Regions from separate parts of the Homo sapiens genome. Here region 1 is linked to region 2. The links are contacts of gene promoters, found by promoter capture Hi-C in blood cells and fetal thymus (Javierre and others, 2016). All regions are on one chromosome and are shown on one strand. Each heading gives the region's core, a stretch centred on a gene start or on the middle of the fragment in contact. The rest is flanking DNA. Distances are from core to core; before and after follow the strand shown.

Region 1 (6,404 bases), core at 824-3,323, 170 kb before region 2:
TGGAGGTTTACGGCCAGAGGCGTAGATTTTAGCAGCCTGGCTTACCAGGTTGGAGAGAGTACCTCCTCCTACTCCCTTTGGGTACTTTTGAGAATAAAACTTCCTCATGCCTGTAATCCCAGTACTTTGGGAGGCCGACGCGGGCGAATCACGAGGTCAGGAGTTCGAGACCAGCCTGGCTAATATGGTGAAACCCCGTCTCTACTAAAAAATACAAAAAATTTAGCTGGGCATAGTGGCGGGCGCCTGTAATCCCAGCTGCTCGGAAGGCTGAGGCAGGAGAATCGCTTGAACCTGGGAGGGGGAGGTTGCAGTGAGCCGAGGTCGCGCCACTGCACTCCAGCCCAGGCGACAGAGTGAGACTCCGTCTCAAAAAAAAAAAAAAAAAAAAAAAAAAAAAAAAAAAACTTCTCATAAACAGCCTCCAAACAGCGCTCGGTGCTGCGCAGGCGACGCGGGGCGGGGAGGGAGGGTGAGTGCCCTGGGAGCCGGCTGAGGGCCTCGCCCCGCCCCTGGTCCCGCCTCCGGTTAGGCCGCTCCGCCTCTTACTCCTCCCCTCCCCCGAGTGGGCCGGCCCGGCTCCCCCTCCGCGGGGCTGAGTGGATGAGCCCAGGCCTGAGCCCGCCCCTGCTCCGAAGTCGTGGTCCCCGACGCTCGGCCGGCAGTGCCATCGCGCGGAGAGGAGGGGGTGCGCTTCCGCGGGCGGGGCGCGGAGCCCGCCGTCTCGGAGGCCGCGGCTCGGCCCGGCACTGCGGAGGGCCGCTTGATTTCCCGGAACCCAGGTCGCGCGGCTGCTAGGGCCGGAGCCGGTGGATCCGAGCGGGTGCCACCAGCGGCGGCGCGCCGCCTCCCCCGGTGGGAGCGGTGGTTGGGCCAGGCTGCGGCAGAGCGTTCGCTCGGAGATGGCGGAGCAGCCGCGACGCGGCCCGTGGCCCCGAAAGCAGGGAAGCCGGGCAGCCCCGGGACGCGGCGGAGCCCGGGGACAGCGGGGACGCCGCCCAGTCCTCCGGGTGAGCCGCCCCTGAGGAGACCCCCCCGCCCACGGTCGCGCTCAGGCCCCCCCAACAGACTCCCTTGGATGTTGCCACCATCACCACCCGCAGGGTCGTCCCGGGCGGCCCAGCGTGCGCCGCGCCCCGGGTCCTTTCCGCCGGCCTCCCTCAGAACCGCCTCGCTCCCCTCCGGACCGGGCGGGCTCCCTTCTTCCCGCAGGGCTCTCCCAGCCCAGAGGCTGTCTCGATGTCACCCCGGAGTCGCCGCCGCGCGCCTGTGGCCCCTTCCCCTTTGGTGTCCCACATCCGGTGCGCTCTTCGCATCCACCTGTGCCCCCGTCTCCTCTCGGCGGGGCCCCTCCACCCGCCAGCCCCGGGCCCCCTCGGCGCCCGCAGCCTCCGCGCCGCTGCTCCGGCCGTCCCGGCCTCCCCAAGCCCGGGCCCGGCCCCGGCCCCCGTCTGGCTTCGCCGTCCTCAGAGATCTCCCGCACACACCCACCCCGCCCAGCCCTGCTGGCCCTCAGTGTTCACTGGCCCGGCCTGCGGCGCTCCCGGCGCCCCTTCCCTAAACCTTGCTGCTTCTTCCAGGTATGAAGCTAAAATGCAGCGGCTAAGAACGCGGCTCTGGAGCTTGACAGGCCTGACGTCGAATCCCAGCCCTCCCACCAACTGAGCTGTGTGATCCTGGGCAAGGTTCTAAGCTTCTCTGAGTTACTCATATGTGAAATGGGGATAATGGAGCATGTACCTTTTCCCTACCTCTTAGGGCTGGTGTGAAGATTAAATATATGTGAAGCTCTTAGAAGAATGGCTGGCAAGTTGTAATTTCTCAAATACGGGATGATACACCCTGAGTATCAACTTCCCGTCAGTGACCTCCTCACTACAATGTTTTCTCTAAAGTTGCATCACATTCTTAGCATTCACCCCTTCCCGTCACCATTTTGATCCTCTCCCCCAGCTGTCTTCTCGTGTCGTTTTACCTAGGCCAAAGCTGAACTGTTTTATTTTTATTTTTATTTTTATTTTTTTTTGAGCTGGAGTCTAGCTCTGTCACCCAGGCTGGAGTACAGTGGCACAATCTCAGCTCACTGCAATTTCCGCCTCCCACGTTCAAGTGATTCTCCTGCCTCAGCCTCCTGAGTAGCTGGGACTACAGGCGCCCACCACCATGCCCATCTAATTTTTGTATTTTTAGTAGAGACGGGGCTTCACCATGTTGGCCAGGCTGGTCTCGAACTCCTGACCTCAAGTGATCACCCGCTTCGGCCTTTCACAGTGCTGGAATTACAGGCGTGAGGCACCACGCCTGTCCTGAACTGTTTTTAAATCATCTCTGTCAATTCTGAAGGACCTCAGCTCTGCCTTATCACCCCTGAGATGTGTGTTTGGGGGTGGGTGGTAGAGAGGGATTGCCAGCCTTACAAGGAGGCTGAGTGGGGATAGTGACAATAAAGCTTACAGAAGCAGTCGATTTAAGAAAAAGAACAGACTCAGGAGGCTGAGGCCGGAGGATTGTCTGTCTGACCCCAGGAGTTCAAGACCAGCCTGGGCAACGTAACAAGACCCCCATCTCTAAAAAAAATTAAAAATTAGTAGGGTGTGGTGGTGCAAAGCTGTAGTCCCAGCTACATGGGAGGCTGAGGTGGGAGGATCACTTGAGCCCAGGAGTTTGAAGCTGCAGTAGGCTATGATCACACTAGCACACTGTATCCTGGGTGACAGAGCAAGACTCCATCTAAAAATAATAAAAGAGATCCCCAAAATTAGACCTCCTTAAAACTGTTTTCTGATCACACTGTCCTTTTTCCTTCTGTCATTGGTTGGATGTGACTTAAGCTCCTGTTGCTCTCTGTCATCCAGTCCTTACTCAAGTTGTTCTGTTTGTGTAACTGGACTCAATACCTCATGTCTCTCCAGACTAGCTCAGGGACTCTTCTGAGCTGTTTAGGAATAGGGTTGTAGAACTACTTAGGCTAAGTTAGGAAGGAGAAGTAGAGTGGACTCAGCTGTATGGCTTTTCTCAGCACCCAGTGTGTGGCCTGCTCAGGGGTTACATTTTTATCTCCTGACTGGCAAAGTTGAGGTGAAGGTCAGGGGCAGGTAATGTTTCACAAGCAACGGGTAAGGGAGTCCCTAATTTCTGGGTTTGGAAACTGGTAGAATGATTACCTATCATGAGGATTGCTCTTTCCTTTTGAACTCCCCCACCATAGTGTCCACCTGACTGCAAGTTCGTTAAAGCTGTTGGCTGTGATATTGGGTTTGATTGATGAGAAGATTAACAGACTCATGAGTTCCTTATCTGATATTTTGTTGGAGCATGGGACTTCTGAAGACTTCCGGGGCTTTCCGTCCCTTCCTCACAGAAAGATCAGAGCTGTTGCTGGCTGCCAGCTGCTCGGTCATGGGCTAGGAACTCCTTTCAGAGCAGGCCTGTTTTTAGCCTTCTAGGATATTTAGCCTCTTGTTGATGGGAGATTTGTTCCTATCATTTGCATATACTGCTCCATCTCTGAGCTTTGCTTAGAGAGGAGAATTTGGACATTCATTTGGGTATTCTAAGAAAGGGAAAGGGAACAAGCTGTGAAGCTAAGGTATAGGACTCAGCTTGTAGATTCTCCTAGAGGAAACTTTTTTTTTTTTTTTTTTGAGAACAGATTATCCAGTAAGCAGGAGGTAAGAGAGATGGGATGGGGAGGAGAATGGATTAATGACAATTTCAGAGGGAGGAGTAACCCACTGATTTCTCTGTCTTACAGGTAGAGGGGAAGAGATTGAACTTTGCTGACCTTTGATGTGAGGCGCTCAGCCAGGGCCAAGGGGAGAGCCTGGCAAGATTTGCAGCCTGAAGCCATGGGCCAGGGGGCCATGGTGACCTGAGACAAGTGGACTCTGTATAGTTGCCCCCTGCTTCCCCTTCTACCTCCCCTACCCTATGCTAAGGGGACTCGTCTCCACCTCGTAAAGGAAACTCCCCAAGGGAATCCCTGTCCCCTATTTTCCTATCCTTCTACCCTTCCAAGACAGTCCTAGCCTATAGAACTCCTACCTCCCATCCCCTGAGGTGGTCCCCATTCCTCCCTCCCTTCCTCCCCCCGCCATGCTCCAGTTGTGGAAGGTGGTACGCCCAGCTCGGCAGCTGGAACTGCACCGCCTCATACTGCTGCTGATCGCTTTCAGCCTGGGCTCCATGGGCTTCCTGGCTTATTATGTGTCCACCAGCCCTAAGGCCAAGGAACCCTTGCCCCTGCCCTTGGGAGACTGCAGCAGCGGTGGGGCAGCTGGTCCTGGCCCTGCACGGCCTCCAGTTCCACCTCGGCCCCCCAGGCCTCCAGAGACAGCTCGAACTGAACCCGTGGTCCTTGTGTTTGTGGAGAGTGCATACTCACAGCTGGGGCAGGAAATTGTGGCCATCCTGGAGTCTAGTCGTTTTCGTTATAGCACTGAGTTGGCACCTGGCCGAGGGGACATGCCCACATTGACTGATAATACCCATGGCCGCTATGTCTTGGTCATTTATGAGAACCTGCTCAAGTATGTCAACCTGGATGCCTGGAGTCGGGAACTGCTAGACCGGTACTGCGTGGAGTATGGTGTGGGCATCATTGGCTTTTTCCGAGCCCACGAGCACAGCCTACTGAGCGCCCAGCTCAAGGGCTTTCCCCTTTTTTTACACTCAAACTTGGGGCTCCGGGACTACCAAGTGAATCCTTCTGCCCCGCTACTGCATCTCACACGCCCCAGCCGCCTAGAACCAGGGCCACTGCCTGGTGATGACTGGACCATCTTCCAATCCAATCATAGTACATATGAACCAGTGCTTCTTGCCAGCCTTCGGCCAGCTGAGCCCGCAGTGCCAGGACCAGTTCTTCGTCGGGCCCGGCTTCCCACTGTGGTACAGGACCTGGGGCTTCATGATGGCATCCAGCGGGTGCTCTTTGGACATGGCCTTTCCTTCTGGCTCCACAAACTTATCTTCGTTGATGCTGTTGCATACCTCACTGGCAAGCGCCTCTGCCTGGACCTTGACCGCTACATCTTGGTAGACATCGATGACATCTTTGTGGGCAAGGAAGGGACCCGCATGAAGGTGGCTGATGTTGAGGTCAGTCTTGTTACTTAAATTTTTTTCTTAGAAGCTATTCACACTCTGGCCTGTCAGACTCCCTTCCTTGATTCTGAGCTTGTCATAGGTACACTCCCTGCCTTTCCAGGCAGGAAGAATGCTACTTCTCATGTATTTCCTGTTCAGTCTGCTCTCCTGATTTCTCTTGTCCCTGCTACTCTTCCCAGGCTCTGTTGACCACCCAGAACAAACTCAGGACCTTAGTTCCCAACTTCACCTTCAACTTGGGCTTCTCGGGCAAGTTCTATCATACTGGTGAGCTTATACCCCTACTCCTTTGGCATATCATAGTTTGACCTGTCCCTTCACTGTCCACCTCCCTGGGCAGACAAGTTGAAGAAAAGGGTCAAGGTTTGGGGTCAGACTGCTGTGAGGAGCTAGTGGTGGGCATGAATTTAGGTTCGCATGGGTGGCTGGATGGCAAGTTGGCAGTGGGGCAAATAGAAAGTCTTAGGCAAGGATCAGGGATGGAAGGTGGTCAGTGTTGTTACAAAATAAAGGAGGGAACAGGGGCTGACTGGCTGTGGTCAGTGGTCAGCGTGTGGTCATAGGGACAGAGGAGGAGGATGCAGGGGACGACATGCTGCTGAAGCACCGCAAAGAGTTCTGGTGGTTCCCCCACATGTGGAGCCACATGCAGCCACACCTGTTCCACAATCGCTCCGTGCTGGCTGACCAGATGAGGCTCAACAAACAGTTTGCTCTGGTGAGACCCTTGGATCTCTTCCCCATAATTTCTCCCAGCCATGCTTCCTTTTCTACCTTCCCCTAATGGGCTACCCTTTTCCTATCCTTTGCGTTTTTCTTTATTTGGAGGCTTCCCCACCCTCTTTACCCTCTACTCCCCAAACCTCACCAGGTCCTGGTGAGAGTCTATGCCATTCCCAGGAGCATGGGATTCCCACGGACCTGGGGTATGCTGTGGCCCCCCACCACTCGGGTGTGTACCCCATCCACACGCAGCTCTATGAGGCCTGGAAATCCGTGTGGGGCATCCAGGTGACCAGCACTGAGGAGTATCCCCATCTCCGCCCTGCCCGCTACCGCCGTGGCTTCATTCACAATGGCATTATGGTGAGGGACTCCCAATACAGGCTTGAATCAAACTCTAACATTTAGACAGCTTTCAACATGCATTGACCTATGTTCTCTATCAACTGCCAGTCCAAGTATGGGGGTACATAATTGGGGGTAGAAAGGTGAAAAAATTTTAACACCCTCAGTAAGAGCTTTATTGCTATAACTTCAGACTCAGTCCTCTATAAATCCCAGTGTCCTCCATC
Region 2 (6,106 bases), core at 993-3,492:
GGATACCTTTTAGGGTCTCCACAGGATGGAAAAAGGACATGGTCAGGAAGAGTAAAGAGCTCAGAAGGGGACAAAGGAAGTTACAAAAGCCACTTCCTGGTGCGTGCCTGTAGTCCCAGCTACTCAGAGGCTGAGGTAGGAGGATCACTTGTGCCCAGGTGTTCAAGTCCAGCCTGGGCAACATAGTGAGACCCCCATCTCTAAAATAAAGAAAGAAATAATTTTTTAAAAAGCCAGCTAGGCACAGTGGCTCACGCCTATAATCCTAGCACTTTGGGAGGCTAAGACAGGAGGATTGCTTGAGCCCAGGTGTTTGAGACCAGCCTGGGAAACATAGTGAAACCCTGTCTCTACAAAACATATGAAAATTAGCTGGGCGTGGTGGCATGTACCAGCAGCCCTAGCTACCTGGGAGGCTGAGGTCGAAGGATTACCTGAGCCTGGGGAGGCTGAGGTTGCAGTGAGCCAAAATTGTGCCACTGCACTTCAGCACAGGCAACAGAGTGAGACCCTGTCTCAAATAAATAAATAAATAAATAAAGCCACTTCCTCAGGTAGCAGCAACAGGGTTGTGGTGGCTGCAGCAGAAGTGCTGCAGCAACTGGTTCCAGAATCTAAGCAGAAGGTGGAGGAAGATCATGCAGCTACTGAAGAAGGGCCTGGGGAAATGATAGGCTTTCCCCAAAGGGGCTTTCAAGCCTGTGGCCCTGCCCAGAGACTCCGCTGGAACAGTACAAATGGCACAGTCCAGATCCTATGTGGTATGTGCTCCCTTTGCAGGAAATCTCAAGTAGAAACCTCAGAGAGCCTGTAATCCCAGCACTTCGGGAGGCTGAGATGGATGGATCACGAGGTCAGGAGATCGAGACTATCCTGGCTAACACGGTGAAACCCCATCTCTACTAAAAATACAAAAAAAAATTTAGCCGGGCGTGTTGGTGGGCGCCTGTAGTCCCAGCTACTCGGGAGGCTGAGGCAGGAGAATGGCGTGAACCTGGGAGGTGGAGCTTGCAGTGAGCCGAGATTGCGCCACTGCACTCCAGCCTGGGCAACAGAGCGAGACTCCGTCTCAAAAAAAAAAAAAAAAAAGAAGAAGAAAAGAAACCTCAGAGAGCCTATATGTGCTTCTCAGGGAGACATCGATGTCTATCCCGCACAGCAGGTTGAACTGAGCATCTCAACAGCAAATGGAGGTTAAAAGGCAGATCCTGGCTGGGCGTGGTGGCTAGAGAATAACTCCTTAGAGACCAGATCCTGGCGGTGGCTCACGCCTGTAATTCCAACATTTTGCGAGGCCAATGTGGGTGGATCACCTGAGGTCAGGAGTTTGAGACCAGCCTGGCCAACGTGGTGAAACCCCGTCTCTACTAAAAATACAACAATTAGCCGGGCATGGTGGTGGACACCTGTAATCCCAGCTACTCAGTAGGCTGAGGCAGGAGAATTGCTTGAACCCAGGAGGTGGAGGTTGCAGTGAGCCGAGATCGCACCACTGCACTCCAGCCTGGGCAAAAAGAGCGAAACTCCATCTCAAAAAAAAAAAAAAAAAAATGCAGATCCAAGTGTTTGTCTTTTATTAAAACTGCCAGAGCTCAAGAGGAAAGAATAGGGAGTGAGGCAGACAGAATAATTGTCAAGTCTTCCCCACATCATTCCTTTGTAGGAGGTACTGGGTTTAGTTAATTTGGTCCCTTAACCTGCCAAGATCTAGCCCTTACCGAGAAAAGACCAACCTATCCAGGAACTTTAAAAGAGCAGTTCCACTGTGAAGACTTCCCTTTTTGTCCCCAAATATAGCACTTTAAGCCCTCCCTGCTCCAAATACACCCACAGGTCTCTCCACTCTGCCCTGGATTGGCTCTGTGTGGCCCTCAGGGCATGTTCCCCAGACTCTCTCTCTCTGACTGAATTCCTATCCAATACTTGCTGTCTACTTCCTGTCTCCCTCTCAGTCTTCAGTTTCTCCCTAAGTGCTTCTTTGGATCTCAGGCTCTAGGTGCAATGTGAAGGGGAGTCCCTGGGCAGACTGATCCCTGGCTCAGACAGTTCAGTGGGAGAATCCCAAAGGCCTTTTCCCTCCTTCCTGAGCCTCCGGGCAAGGAGGGAGGGATCTTGGTTCCAGGGTCTCAGTACCCCCTGTGCCATTTGAGCTGCTTGCGCTCATCATCTCTATTAATAACCAACTTCCCTCCCCCACTGCCAGTGCTGCCCCCACGCCTGCCCAGCTCGTGTTCTCCGGTCACAGCAGCTCAGTCCTCCAAAGCTGCTGGACCCCAGGGAGAGCTGACCACTGCCCGAGCAGCCGGTAAGTCTCCAGCTCTATCGTTAGAAAGGCTGGAGCCCACTGTGTTGACTTCTGTGTCTGTGTCTACAATTGTGATTCTTGATCCTGGGGGAGTCTCCCCTCTCCTCATCTATGCTCAGCTCCCAGCTGTCCAGTTGGAAGGAGAGGGGAAGGAGAGTTGGAAGGAGAGGGGCCCAGGAGGTTGGGGGGAATGGAGATGTCGGGGGAGGCACTGGAAGAATGGGAAGGGAGACCCCACTAAGTCAGTAGAGTTGCAGATGTATTTTTTGAGACAGGACTTAGAAGAGGACAGCATTTCACTGAGTGCCAACTTCTCTTAAGAAGGGATTGGAGTCCATCTTATCCCAGTTTGTCCCTTTCCATTGCCAGATCCTATTACTATGTTTCTGCCCCACCTCAATTCCCCACTGCTATGATATTGCTGAATTGACGTGTCGGGATTTGAATGCTCCCTACCCTTCCCAGTTCCACACCTGCCTCCACTCTGGGGTCTGTGGCGGGAGTGATTGCAGGAGCAGGGCCATGACTTCCCAGGCCATGTTCCAGCTGGCCTGATGAAGGAGCAACAACCTCTCCTTCCTATGGAGAGTGTTTTTGGCTGAATCTCCTCAACCCTGGCAGAATATTTCTCTGTCCTCCTGGGGACTGGGGGAAGACTGAGGAGAGACCAGAGCCTGGAATCACAGCCCCAGTCTGATATCCCAGTGCAAATAAAAACTTCAAATCATGCCAAGCCAATGAAACCTGGGTGCATTGCCCTGCTTGTGTTATTGTTTTTTAAACACTCCCCACACCTAGCTATGTTCCTAATTCCTGCACTGACTCTATGAAAAACAGCTCACAACAGGTTGGTAGACAACAGGGGCTGGTGTGCATCTATACTTCCTGTCCTGTATCCCAAGAAAAGAGAAGCCCTAAAGCGCAAGTTTTCACCTTTTGGGGAAATACATGCTTCTTTGAAAATCTGGGTCAGGTGAAGTGGCTCACCCCTGTAATCTCAGCACTTTGGGAGGCAGGAGGACTGCTTGAGCCCAGGAGTTTGAGACCAGCCTGGGCAACATGGCAAAACCACATTTCTACAAAAAATACAAAAATTAGCCAGGCACGGTGGTGCGCACCTATAGTCCCAGCTACTTGGGAGGCTGAAGTTGGAGGATCACCTGAGCCCAGGGAGGTTGAGGCTGCAGTGAGGCATGATTGTGCCATTGCACTCCAGCCTGGGCGACAGAGTGAGATCCTGTCTCTAAAAAAGAAAAAAAAATTTTTTTGTCCCCTCAAGCCCTTAAACCCAGGTTAAGAAGTGCTGCTCTCCTACAGACACTCACTCTTCCCAGTCCCTGTCCATCCACCAACTCCTCCTTCCCACCCTGTCCAGGCTGAATCCACCTCCACAATGCCGCTCTCAGGAACCCCGGCCCCTAATAAGAAGAGGAAATCCAGCAAGCTGATCATGGAACTCACTGGAGGTAGGACATGTTTGCATCTCCCTAGTGTGGGACTTCTTAAGAGCATCCCTAAACCAAGAGTCCCAGAAATATATATCTTAGGGTGAACAAACAAGAGAAATTAAGTGGTGGGAAGGCGGGTGATGGGGAGTGGGAGAGGGAAGATTAAGAAGGGTAAGGAGAAAGAGAGAAAAGATTCAACACCTTCTACCCTTTTCACTTCATAATCTGAGACAATACCCTGCCATGTTACCTGCACAGGTCCAGGACCACAGGACCCATGAGTCAGTGAGGTATATTTGAGGAAGAAAATATAATGGAGACTGGCACAGACTCAGGTCTCAATAAGTGGTTAATTTCCCTTACTTCTTTCCCCAGAGCTAGGGAGCTTGTGTAAGTACTTAAAATGGAAAACTGCACAGGCATGTTTCCTGGGGGTGGGCAGGGGTGCATGCATGTGAAGAGCTCTTCAATACCTAGAGACTCTTTGGAGCCAGAGCTCACTGAGGGAAAGAAAAGGGAAAGTAGTTAAGACAGAAGTCTGGGCCAGGTGCAGTGGCTCACGCCTGTAATCCCAGAACTTTGGGAGGCCAAGGCTGGTGGATCGCTTGAACTCAGGGGTTTGAGACTGGCCTAGGCACATGGTAAAACCTCGTCTCTACAAAAAGTACAAAAATTAGCCAGGTGTAGTGGCATGTGCCTAGAGTCCCAGCTACTCCAGAGGCTGAGGTGGGACGATCGCTTGAACCCGGGAGGTGGAGGCTGCCGTGAGCCATGATTGCGACGCTACCCTCCAGCCTGGGTGACAGAGTTCATCCTAAGATATATTTATTTTGTCTCAAAATAAATAATACAAATAGGGCTGGGGCTGTGTCTCATACCTGTAATCGCAGCACTTTGGGAGGCTGAGGTGAGAGGACCACTTGAGCCCAGGAGTTCAAGACCAGCCTGGACAACATAATGAGACCTCATTTCCATTAAAAAAAAAAAAAAAAAAAAAGTCCAGGCGTGGTGGCTCATGCCTGTAATCCCAGCACTTTGGGAGGCTGAGGTGGGCCAATCATCTGAGGTCAGAAGTTCAAGACCAGCCCGGCCAACATGGTGAAACCCTGTCTCTACAAAAATAGAAAAATTAACTGGGCATGGTGCCGGGTGCCTGTAATCCCGGCTACTTGGGAGACTGAGGGAGGAGAATCACTTGAACCCAGGAGATGGAGGTTGCAGTGAGCTGCAATCGCGCCATTGCACTTCAGCCTGGGAGACAGAGCAAGTCTCTGACTCAATAAATAAATAAATAAATAAATAAATAAATAAATAAATAAATAAAATGTAGGCTGGGCGCCACGGCTCACGCCTGTCATCCCAGCATTTTGGGAGGCCGTGGCTGGTAGGTCAGTTGAGCTCAGGAGTTTGCGACCAGCCTGGCCAACATGGTGAAACCCCATCCCTACCAAAAAATATAAAAATCAGCCAGGGATGGTGGTGCAGGCCTGCAATCCCAGCGACCTGGGAGGCTGAGGCAGGAGAATTGCTTGAACCTGGGAGGCGGAGGCTGCAGTGAGCTGAGATCGCGCCATTCCACTCCAGCCTGGATGATAGAGCAGGACTCTGTCTCAAAAAAATGAAAAAAAAGAATAAAAAATAAAAACAAATATATATATATATATATATATGGCATCTGTATTTGGACTCCACACAAGATTGGCCTCTGGGTTTTTCCTGATGCCATGGTTTCTCCAATGGCCTCCATCTATGATGTTCCTTTACTCCTTTTGCTCTGTACCCCATGCCCGTACCTCTTTTACCCCATTGGCCTCTCCACTCTAGTATTCCCATTATCTCCACAGTGCACCCCAGTTCCCATGCATTCTCTCCAAGTCCCAGGAAATCAAAATCCCTCACAAACTAGACAGCATTTGTTCCCCTAAATGACCTCTGCCAGGACACACATACACACTTAGTTGTGGATGAGGTCTGCATTCTGAGCCCAGAAAACCCTACTTTCCTCTTTCCCTTGATTCTTCTTCTTTGCCTCCCTGAAAGGTGGACAGGAGAGCTCAGGCTTGAACCTGGGCAAAAAGATCAGTGTCCCAAGGGATGTGATGTTGGAGGAACTGTCGCTGCTTACCAACCGGGGCTCCAAGATGTTCAAACTGCGGCAGATGAGGGTGGAGAAGTTTATTTATGAGAACCACCCTGATGTTTTCTCTGACAGCTCAATGGTGAGTCTGGAACTTTATCACTATCTCAAAGCCTGGTGCCTGTTCTGACAGCTTGTTAGTAGGCCCTGAACCTCCAAAATGCAGTCAACATCCCCTCCCTGAAAATTTATAAATTTGTTAAACCCCCAGATATA

The links. Contacts are between HindIII fragments. The CHiCAGO score rates a contact against its expected background, and 5 or more counts as called.
Region 1: a contact is called between a fragment that was not itself captured here and the fragment with the promoter of MYOZ1 in region 2, in 1 of 17 cell types (fetal thymus). The highest score is 5.4, in fetal thymus.

What each region holds. Positions count from the first base shown.
Region 1 is chr10:73,806,080-73,812,483 of GRCh38, reverse strand. NDST2 (N-deacetylase and N-sulfotransferase 2) reads left to right here and starts at 886. Exons shown (of 15, transcript NM_003635.4): 1 at 886-1,010; 2 at 1,581-1,685; 3 at 3,755-5,100; 4 at 5,289-5,376; 5 at 5,673-5,827; 6 at 6,010-6,195. The coding sequence starts at 4,096. NDST2-ZSWIM8-AS1 (NDST2-ZSWIM8-AS1 readthrough) reads left to right here and starts at 664. Exons shown (of 18, transcript NR_182658.1): 1 at 664-1,010; 2 at 1,581-1,685; 3 at 3,755-5,100; 4 at 5,289-5,376; 5 at 5,673-5,827; 6 at 6,010-6,195. RefSeq lists silencers at 372-1,081, 1,382-1,451. The HindIII fragment of the contact is 756 bases long and covers 1,696-2,451 here.
Region 2 is chr10:73,637,610-73,643,715 of GRCh38, reverse strand. It overlaps MYOZ1 (myozenin 1), which reads left to right and starts at 2,242. Exons shown (of 6, transcript NM_021245.4): 1 at 2,242-2,305; 2 at 3,681-3,771; 3 at 5,794-5,972. The coding sequence starts at 3,699. The HindIII fragment of the contact is 20,057 bases long and covers 1-6,106 here.